Linked DNA regions of Homo sapiens: region 2 is linked to region 1. Evidence: promoter capture Hi-C in 16 types of primary human blood cells and fetal thymus (Javierre and others, 2016). All regions are on one chromosome and are shown on one strand. The core of a region is centred on a gene start or on the middle of the fragment in contact, and the rest is flanking DNA. Distances in the headings are between cores, read along the strand shown.

What was found. The method cuts DNA at HindIII sites, captures the fragments that hold promoters and counts their contacts. A CHiCAGO score of 5 or more calls a contact.
Region 2: a fragment that was not itself captured here is called in contact with the fragment with the promoter of B3GALNT1 in region 1 in 1 of 17 cell types (endothelial precursors); the score reaches 5.3 in endothelial precursors.

Annotation. Positions count from the first base shown.
Region 1 is chr3:161,103,422-161,108,125 of GRCh38, reverse strand. It overlaps B3GALNT1 (beta-1,3-N-acetylgalactosaminyltransferase 1 (Globoside blood group)), which reads left to right and starts at 2,777. Exons shown (of 5, transcript NM_003781.4): 1 at 2,777-2,891; 2 at 3,720-3,807; 3 at 4,609-4,699. LOC124909453 (a long non-coding RNA gene) reads right to left here and starts at 3,445. Exons shown (of 2, transcript XR_007096147.1): 1 at 3,241-3,445; 2 at 1-1,555. RefSeq lists silencers at 2,873-2,962, 2,973-3,222. The HindIII fragment of the contact is 4,654 bases long and covers 22-4,675 here.
Region 2 is chr3:161,203,114-161,208,410 of GRCh38, reverse strand. No RefSeq gene overlaps it. Among named protein-coding and RNA genes, the nearest start is that of NMD3, 16 kb to the left of the region's middle. The HindIII fragment of the contact is 821 bases long and covers 1,879-2,699 here.

The sequences.
Region 1 (4,704 bases), core at 1,528-4,027:
GCATAATAAATTGTCAAAGCTTTCCATCAAGTGGAAGAAGACAGTCACAGTCAGATTTTGGAGAAGGCACATATTGAAAAATTCAACTGAACAATTAGTAGAAGCATTTCCTGTAGATTAGAAACCCTGCCCAGAACCACATCTGCCTTGAAACATATATAGCACATATTACGAAAGAACTGTTGTTACATTTCAATTTTCATCTGCAGACAAATTTAAGGTTAAAATGTAATATAGCCTTAAAGGTGACTGCTAGTTCAAACTTATCATTAGGCATATGGCTTCCTAACTCTTGATTATATGTTCGGAAAATTGCTAGGAAGGTTTCCATCTTATTGGTCAGATGGTATGTGAGTGTGACATATAACTCTTTGATGTGTGCTTTTCTTCTGGAATTTGTAGATAGTGCAGGATACTTAAATTTATTTTGCTTTTGTGAAGTAAGCAAATAACCTGACTTTAAACCTCAGTAAGGCTATTCAGCTAAATTCCATATATATCTATTGAAGATATATTACAGCAAGGCAGTGCGGTAGGGCCTGTCTCTTCCCTCAGGTTGCTGATAATCTCATGGCAGAGACATCTGTAAACAAGTTCTGAGGCAAGTGAGTGCTCACAGAATTATAAACAGGTTTGGGTAGTTTGGGGAGAGAAGTGAGTAAGAACAATAGCTGCCATCAGATATCATAAATTTGAAGTTTGATGATTTACTTTCAAGAATAAGGTTCCTGCCACTTAGTTTAGCTAGTTCTGGCCACATTATCTGCAGCTCCTTCCATCAAGAGGCAGAGACTATTTGCCTGCCCCTTGGATTTGGAGAGGCCTCACAATTTGCTTTGATTTGTAGAATTTGGCATATATGATCTTGTGTGACTCCCAAGTCTAGGCCTTAAGAAATTTTACAGCTTCTGCCTGCTCTCTTCTGGATGTTGCCCACAGACCAAAAACATAGCCTACTGCAGGATAAGAGGCCACATGGAGCCAACAGCAGACACATGAGTGAGGCCACCTTGGACTTTCAGCTTAGCTGATTCTCCAGTTCAGGGATCAGCAAACTACAGCCTGTAGGCCATAGCCTGCTTCTGTATGGCCCTTGAGCTATGAATAGCTTTGGGTTTTTAATAGTTTATAAAAATTAAATAAAAAAGAATATGTGACAGAGACAAAGTCTAAAATATTTACTATCTGATCCTGTTTTACAGAAAACTTGGCCAACCCCTGCTACAGCTGAATGTATCTATACGAGTGAGCCAAATCAAAACCAGAGAGGAACCACATAACCAACCTTCAGAATTATGAGAAATATTAAATTGACATTTTTGCAAGCAACTATATTTTGGGAGAGTTCGATCTGCAGCAATAGATGACTCAATCACAAGCTGATAAATGCTACACAAAGAAAAAGGAGACTGCTTCAAAGGAAATAATCTCATAAAGGTTTTGGGCCTTTTTGTCTCACTTACTTCATTTAGGAGAATTTCTTACCCCAATCTGTTGTCCATGGCTCTGCTTTGCATTCCAGGGAAGTTTTGGCAGCTATGAGCACATATACCTGCTGGTTACTCAAAGGACATTCAAAACATTTTAAAAATGAGTATTGAAATACAACTTTTCTAAAATTTTAAGAAACGGAATTTGTAAAATATAGTATTAATGCCCTAAAGCATTCTTCCAAATAAGAGGTCTATTTTTTCAGCATATTAATCTATCTGCAGTGAAACCTGTCTGGTTTTGTTATTAATGGACCTCCTTGACTTAGTGAGGTGAACTGTCAGCCCAGGTAGGGTGAAGAATGGCTGTGATAAAGGCGTGCAGCAGGGCAGCAATCACTTTACCCTCTGCAAAGGACACAGCTACCTGCCAAGGCTGGAACCAGGAAAACAATCTCAACCATAATTTAGATCTGATTATTATAATTTAGATCTGATTATTTATGCAGTGTCAACTAAGTCCTTGACTTACACTGCTACTATCTAAACTTACTTTTGTTGTATATCCATTTTGATCTCTATATTCACCCCTATTATTTTCAGAGAACCTTCAAACTATCCTAAGTAATTTTGCAGAAAAAGGCTATAAGGAAGAAGCAGTCAGGCCAAAGAGTCAGTAAACAAAAAGAAATGGTGGGCCACGTTTAGTCTTGATGCAAATGTGTGGGTTACAATCAGGGGTGGTGCTCATGGCTGAGCTTGGTAGTGGTTAAATACATGATCCAGACCCACTTGATTTTGAGGAAAGGACCAGTACAATCAATACTGCACATCTTGGTAAAAGGAGTTTGAGGAGATGGATCTGGGAGTTTAGGTCAGCTATGCTCAGGTGTACAAAAGCAACTCCCTGGGACTCCCATCCATACACAGGCCATTGAAACCTGACGTGTCTCTCTTACCCCCATTCCATTCCCCATCGATTCCGGAAGAAGAACTGGCATTTCTTCTGAGACAGCAAAGAACTCCTCCTAAGATTTCCTCTTTCCTAATTAGTTCTGTATGAAGTTTAACAAGAAAATCCCTCCAGGGCCGCCTCGAGGCCATGCACTCACGCAGTTTGGAAAGACGACCAGGGAAAAAGGATCTCAAACAAAAATTCTAGCTCGACGTCTGCCACTAAGTTGTCTAATTTTGGCCAGCATCAACTAAAGGCATACATAACACGGCCGTGCTCGGAATGCAAGGTGACCGCGAGGACCCAGAGGGCGCGCCATGCGAGCTCACAGGGCTGGGGGCCGCCTGGGCCCGCGCGTGCAGCCAGGGGCTTCCGGCCGCGGCCCTGGCGCGTGGTCTGCGCGCGCCCGGCCGTGCGTGCGGATGCGGGGAGGCTGCGTGTGTGCGCAGGGAGAGAACGCCGGCCACCTTCCCGCTTCCGAGCTGGGTGCGCGCCGAGCACAGGAGGTGAGTGAGAAGGGCGGCCCTGCAGGGTCTCCGAGGCGGTTGAGTCCTGCCACTGGGTGGAGGGTATAGCCACCGGACCCGCCTTTCCCGGAACGCGCCGTCCTCGGAAACGCCTAGACCCCGGCAGCTAGGCCGGGAGGCACCGCCCACTCCTCTAGAGCGGAGCGTGGCCCAGGTTGAGCCGCCGCACCGTGGGTCTCGGGTCTCGGTGACGAGCAGCTGCCCGCCTCCGGTGAGCGCGGGAGAAGGGGCCCAGTGGGGCAGTGGGCGACGCGGAGGGCCCAGGCCCAGGCCGCGGCCGCGCCGCATCCGCTGGTTGTCCACCTTGCCTTGCCCCAGGGTGCAATACCTGCCTTGCGTCGCCCGTGCCGCTCCAGCCACCGTCAAATCCGGGTAGCGACCCGGGGCGTTTGCAGCGGTGCCGAGGAAGAGGACGGGAACGGTGTTACGGTATTGGTGGGCCCCTAACAGGCCTGCGGCGAACGCTTTCCCGGAGCGCTAGGGAAGGGCCCCGGCGCAGGGATGTCGGAGGGATTGGGAAGGAATGTGAAACTAAGTGGGGAATGTGGAGAACGGGCGGAGAGAGAAGGAAATCCCACGGGGCTAGGGCTACAGGATTCCTACAGGCAGTGTTAAGGAACATACAGGGCGTTTTAAAAAGATTCCTAGAGGTGCAACGGAGTCTCACTTTTCCAAGCAGTAAGGAATGATGCCATCCTCAAGTACGGGTAGTCTTTGAATTCAGTATCCGTTCGCCTTCTTAATGTTGGATTTAGGAGGGAGATTTGCAGGGCTTTCATGATTTTGTTTCCTCTGCGTTTTGCACAGATTGCCTGCGTTTAGGAGGTGGCTGCGTTGTGGGAAAAGCTATCAAGGAAGAAATTGCCAAACCATGTCTTTTTTTCTGTTTTCAGAGGTAAGGAAAATTTGGGTTTGCAGTGTTCAACTGGGAACAAGTTTTTTAGCTTCTCCCAGGAGGCTTAAGCAAAAGAAGGGCGCTGAATTTGTGCTCTTAGTATGCATGTGTCGATGCCTGATAAAAGCACAAATTACTGAACGCGTATCAGTCTGGAGAACAGAATCGTTTATTACTAACAGATAAGAGACTATGACTTTTTTCCCCTCATAGACTAAAATGTTCGTTCAAATGAATGGCCATTGGATAACTCCAGACCTGAAAATAAACACTGTTGTCAAAACAGCATCCAGGCCGGGCGCGGTGGCTCACGCCAGTAATTCCAGCACTTTGGGAGGCCGAGGCGGGCAGATCACCTCAGGTCGGGAGTTCGAGATCGGCTTGGCCAACGTGGTGAAACCCCGTCTCTACTAAATATACAAAATTAGCTGGGTGTGGTGGCACACACCTGAAATCCCAGTTCCTCGGGGGGCTGAGGCAGGAGAATTGCTCGAACCCGGGAGGCAGAGGTTGCAGTGAGCCGAGATTGTGCCATTGCACTCCAGCCTGGGCAACAGAGTGAGACTCCATCTCCAAAACAAACAAAAAACAAAAAAACAGTGTCCAAGTATAATTTCAGATTAGAGCATGAGGTGATTTGAAAGCGAGAAGAGAGGATCAAGGCTTTTCCAAAAATGAAAAAAGTGTTGATATGTAATAAATGGCTCCAAAAACAACTTGCTAAGTATACAACATTGATTTTAGATGTCATAATTCCTAATGTTATGACTCATATATATTTTTTTCTGTTCTTCTGTTCAGTAGTTCACAACAGATCTGAGTGTTTTAATTAAGCATGGAATACAGAAAACAACAAAAAACTTAAGCTTTAATTTCATCTGGAATTCCACAGGTAAG
Region 2 (5,297 bases), core at 1,040-3,539, 100 kb before region 1:
TCCAAGAGGGTAAGTGGCAGCCCAGAATAAGATACTTATTTGTGAATTGCTTGGCATGTAGTCACAAGCCTTAATTTCACATACAAGGAAATGCTTTTAGCTGCAAGAATTTTTATTTCTACTCAGGATACAACAAACCCATCCTCTAAAATTCTAGCAATTAATTTATTGCTGAAATTTAGAGATTTTTTAAATGAAAGCCATCATTGGCAGTAAAGATTATAGACAATAAATGTTTACACATGGTAAATTCCAACAGACTACATCTGTCAGATTTAGACTCAATTGATAGTTATTGAACATAGACTATGTGTCAGGCACTGTTCTTTACAAGTTTACAAACATCTCAACTGTCCTATAAACTTATGAGGTAGATTCAATCCCATTTTACTGATGAAAGAAGCAAAGCTCAAAGTCTATGGGACTTAAAAGAGATTACAAAGCTAGCAGGTGGTAAAGCCAGGGTTTGAGCCTGTGTCCTGATCCAAATCAGCTCTCTGCCTCAGCAGAGTGACCCCGGATGCAGAAGAGTTTCATCATGAAAGAGTAGTTAAGGTAGGCTAAGCTTTAGGCAGAAATGTGTAACTTCTAGCATTATTATGCAGGCTCAGATATTATGAATTAATCCATTGTTAGGCCCGAAGTGTTGAGATTCCACTGAGACACTACAACTTGGCATCCAATCATTCAAAACTGGGTTGAAAGGCAGGACATGTCCAAAGCAAATAAGCATTTCACCTGATGAAAGGATGCCTTAAAGTGATGAAAGATGGCTAGATATAAATCTCTTCATATCTCAATGCATAGATTTAGAAGGTAAAAACAAACACAACAAAACAGCATACAAAATAATGATATAGAATTGTCTTTTTATGCTAAATGACTATGTAATTGGACAGTCAATGACTGGGGAAGATATTTTGCACAACCTTTTTTTGTTCTTCTTCTAACTCATGATTCTCATACATATTTGTTGCCAAAATGAGTAAATCTAGGCCTGCAGATTAGGTCTTAGAGCTGGTCCAAGGGTGCATTACCATGACTCCCAGGGCCATCTGGGGAATAGATGCTTGCTTTAACTTCACAGCATGGTATTGAGGGTCATATCTGGCCCAAGCTGCTTTAGCTTGGAGAGGTTGAGAGTAAAGACTAAGAAGTTTATTTAGGCATACAAGTACTCTGTTACCTATTCCTGCACGTGTACTGTATATCATGTATACTCTGCAATGAATTAGATACACCTGGCTAGGGCGCAGTCTTTAGCATCATGCATGTAAGACTAGGTCTGAAGGGGCAGTTGACCTTCAAAAGGTCTAATGTGAGCATCACTTGCTCAAACTTACTATCCTCAGTTGTGTATCTGCTGATGTGGCCCATCGGAGGGATTCTCGAGTGTAAGCACTTCTGTCTGTTAATAAAGATTAAGAGCTGATCTCTTTGCTACATATCCTAACTGCTCTGACTTCGTGCTGCACATTCAGATATGTAAACCTTGTTTGATTTACCCAAGTAATGTCTTTGGCTGTTCAGTCAATTTGAACCAATTTTTTATATTTGTCAAAATGTTATATGTGCTGAGTCAAATATCTACCATAATTCTATGACCTTTGATTGCTGATTAAAGACTCCTTTCAAAGGAGATAGGTAGATTTATTGACAAGCTGATGTCCAGCAATGGTTCTCATCCTTGACCAAAATGTAAGGCTAACCCTGAAGAAAGGCTTTCTTTCTTACACATCCATCTAACATGATTACTGTTTTAGACATTTCCACATATCCTTAAACTAAATTCTGCCAAGTAACTCACATAGGATGGAATGTCTAGGGCAAAACAGGCATAAAATATATGAAATGTGAAATATGCTGTAGCAGAAAGCTTCTAGAAGAGGAGATCTTTGTGTGGTAACAGTGGCTAATGTCCTTTTGTATGTAATATTTTGGTGTGCTCTATATGAAGGGAGAAATCCTTCAGAAGTAAATTGTTACTAACTTGAAAACCTAGGTCTAGATCTAGGGGAATTAATAATCTCGGGAAAATATTTTTATCTGCAATATATAATGTTAAATTCACTCCTACTCAGCAGAAACCTACTCCTTCCCTTCTACTGAGTTTATGGGTGATGGGTTCCTCACTCCATTTCTACCGTTCGTTTAACCATTTAACCATAACTTTTACTAAGAAGCACTCCTTTCCTCGCCATTTTATTAGCTTGCAGCTGTTTTCTCTCTGTGGCTTCAGGCCGAAAGAAAAAAAAATGAAGACATTATGTCTTTGAAAACTTTTTAAAAAGCTATTTCATTCTTATCATTAATTTCGTATGTGGAAAATGTAGAATTGTATTAGATACATTATTTTCTGATGTAATTTAGATGCATGAAAAGTTTAGCTATTTTTGGATTCATTTTTTCTTTTATTTTCTTTTTATCTGTCATTAATTCTGTACTGAAATTTTTAAGATTAATGAAGATATTTGGTAAGATTTTTCTTTCAACCATTTTCTGGTTTGTATAGCCCACCAATACTGCTGTTTTGTGTTAGAAAAGACTGAGTCACGAAAGGAATAAAATTTTTTGTACTGGGTCTCACGGTGAAATAATGGTACCCCGTTACTTAACCTACTGGTTTTTACTCTTCTACTCCTTCAGATGTAATTAAATTAGCTTACTTGCTTAAAAAGTAACATTCCAAGCTAAAAGCTTGGAATTGTCATTTAGGTCAGTTTTATTTTATTTTATTATTATTTGTTGAGATGGAGTCTCGCTCTGTCACCCAGGCTGGAGTGCAGCGACGCGATCTTGCCTCACTGCAAGCTCCGCCTCCCGGGTTCACGCCATTCTCCTGCCTCAGCCTCCCGAGTACCTGGGACTACAGGCACCCACCATCATGCCCGGCTAATTTTTTGTATTTTTAGTAGAGACGGGGTTTCACCGTGTTAGCCAGGATGGTCTCGATCTCCTGACCTCGTGATTCGCCTGCCTCGGCCTCCCAAAGTGCTGGGATTACAGGCATGAGCCACCGTGCCCGGCCTAGGTCAGTTTTATTTTTTTAAATTTAAGCAGTGGTGCTTTAAGTGTTTTAAAGTGAACCATTGAAATGTAACAACCACAGAAAAGTGCACGGATCTTAAATTTTACAGTTTAATAAATTTTCACAAACTAGAAATACTTGTAACTACCAAAATAAGAAAATGAACATAACCAGGACACTGGATGCCCCCTTGGACTCTGACCCCAAGAGGAGCTGCTATCCTGACTTTCATACTATAGATTACTTTTGCCTATTTTGAACTTTATATAAATACAAACATACATCATGTATATCTTTGGGTCTGACTTATTTCACTCAACATTATGTTTATGATACTCATCCATATTGGTACATGTAACAATAGTTTGTTCATTCTTGTTTTGGGTAGATCATACTTTATTCTATTATTGATGAACTTCTGGGTTGCTTGCATTTCAAGGCTATTACAAATAGTGCTGCTATGAACATTCTTGTACACATTGTTGGTGAATATATTTGTATGTTTCTGTTGGATATATATCTAGGAATTGAATTGTCAGGTCATATGGCCTCACTTAGTATGGGCTATCTTTTCATTTTGGTAGGTTGAATGGTGTGTGAGAGTTGGCTCATACTGGCCCTAAGGAACCAATGCTTACATTTTCAGGAATTCTGTGAGCTGGTTGTTAAACACATTATTAAAAATTAAATTATATAAATTTAAATAAGTTATATTATATATTATATGTTACTATATATAATATAGAGATACACAAAATATATATACAATATATTTGTTAAATAATATATAATACAACTTATTTATATTATATATTATATATTACAAAGGTAATAAGTATCTGAAATTCATCGCCTCCACGCTATATTTGTCTATTATCTGTGCTCTTAAGGTTACTTACATCAACCATGTCTGTGTTGTGGAAATGCCACACCACGGTGTGCTGTTCTGCATCCCTCCAGCAATGTCACGTGGCTAACTTGACAATGGCCGCAATGGAGTATTTACACCACAGAAACTATGAAATGCTACTAATTTCAAGGCTTAATTTATTATTTTGTTGATTTATGCAGACTTAAGAAAGTGATACAGAAAATGTTAATAATGCAGATTAAACTCTAAAGTGCCATGTTTGTAGTTGATATGTTGTGGCTAGCATAAATAAAAATTTGTAAAAGCATGGTTGAATTGCAACTTTAGATACAGACACAAGGGTTCAGCAAAAATCAACAAAAACATCTTTAAGAATCAACTGGCAGTCCGGGTACTGTGGCTCATGCCTATAATCCCAACAGTTTGGGATGTCAAGGCAGGAAGATCACTTGAGTCCAGGAGTTCAAGATCAGCCTGGGCAACATGGTGAGACCCCCAGTGCTGGGCACAGTGCTTCGTACTTGTGGTCCCAGTTTCTGGGAAGGCTGAGGCGGGAGGACTGCTTGAGTCCAGGAGGTTGAGGCTGCATTGAGCCATGGTGGTGCCACTGCACTCCAGCCTATGCGACAGAGCAAGACTCTGTCTCAAAACAAAACAAAACAAAACAAAACAAAACAAAAAAAGAAGAAGAAGAATTAACTGGCTACTGGCTATATGGAATTTACCATAAAGGGTATTGTATGTTTTATTATTATTTGTAAATTTGTGCTACATGCATACACACCTTTCTTTCCCCTCTGGAAAGCCCCATTGTTAAACATTTACCAGCACACCTCTATTTGTAGTGGTCACATTGTGATATGAATTTACTTTTCTTAGTCAAAGAAGCTGAACACATTTTCATCAGTGTATTGGTCACTAGAATGTCTTTTTTTGTGAAGTCCCTATTAAGTCTTTTGCCCATTTATCTACTGTTTTATTCTTACTGATTTGTAGGAATTCTTCACATACTCGTCATAAGAGTCCTTAATTGAATATATGTATTGCTAATATCTTCCCCTAGTGAATGAGTTGCCTTTTCACTGTCTTAACAGTGTTTTCTATGTAAAGCAGCTATCAATTTTCATTTAGTCCAATGTGGCAATCTTTTCCTTTATGGTTAGTGCTTTTTGTGCCCTGTTTGAGAAATAGTTGCCATCCCCTAGCTGTTCATGTTTTCTTCCAGAAGCTTTGCTGTTTCACCTTTCACAGTTAGATCTACGATCAACCTGGAGTTGATTTTTGTATATGGTGTGATGCAGAAGCTAAGATTCCTTTCTTGTCCATATAGGTATCCAATTGCCCCAGAACAATTTATTGAAAAGGCCATGCTTTTACTATTGTACTTCAGTACTATTT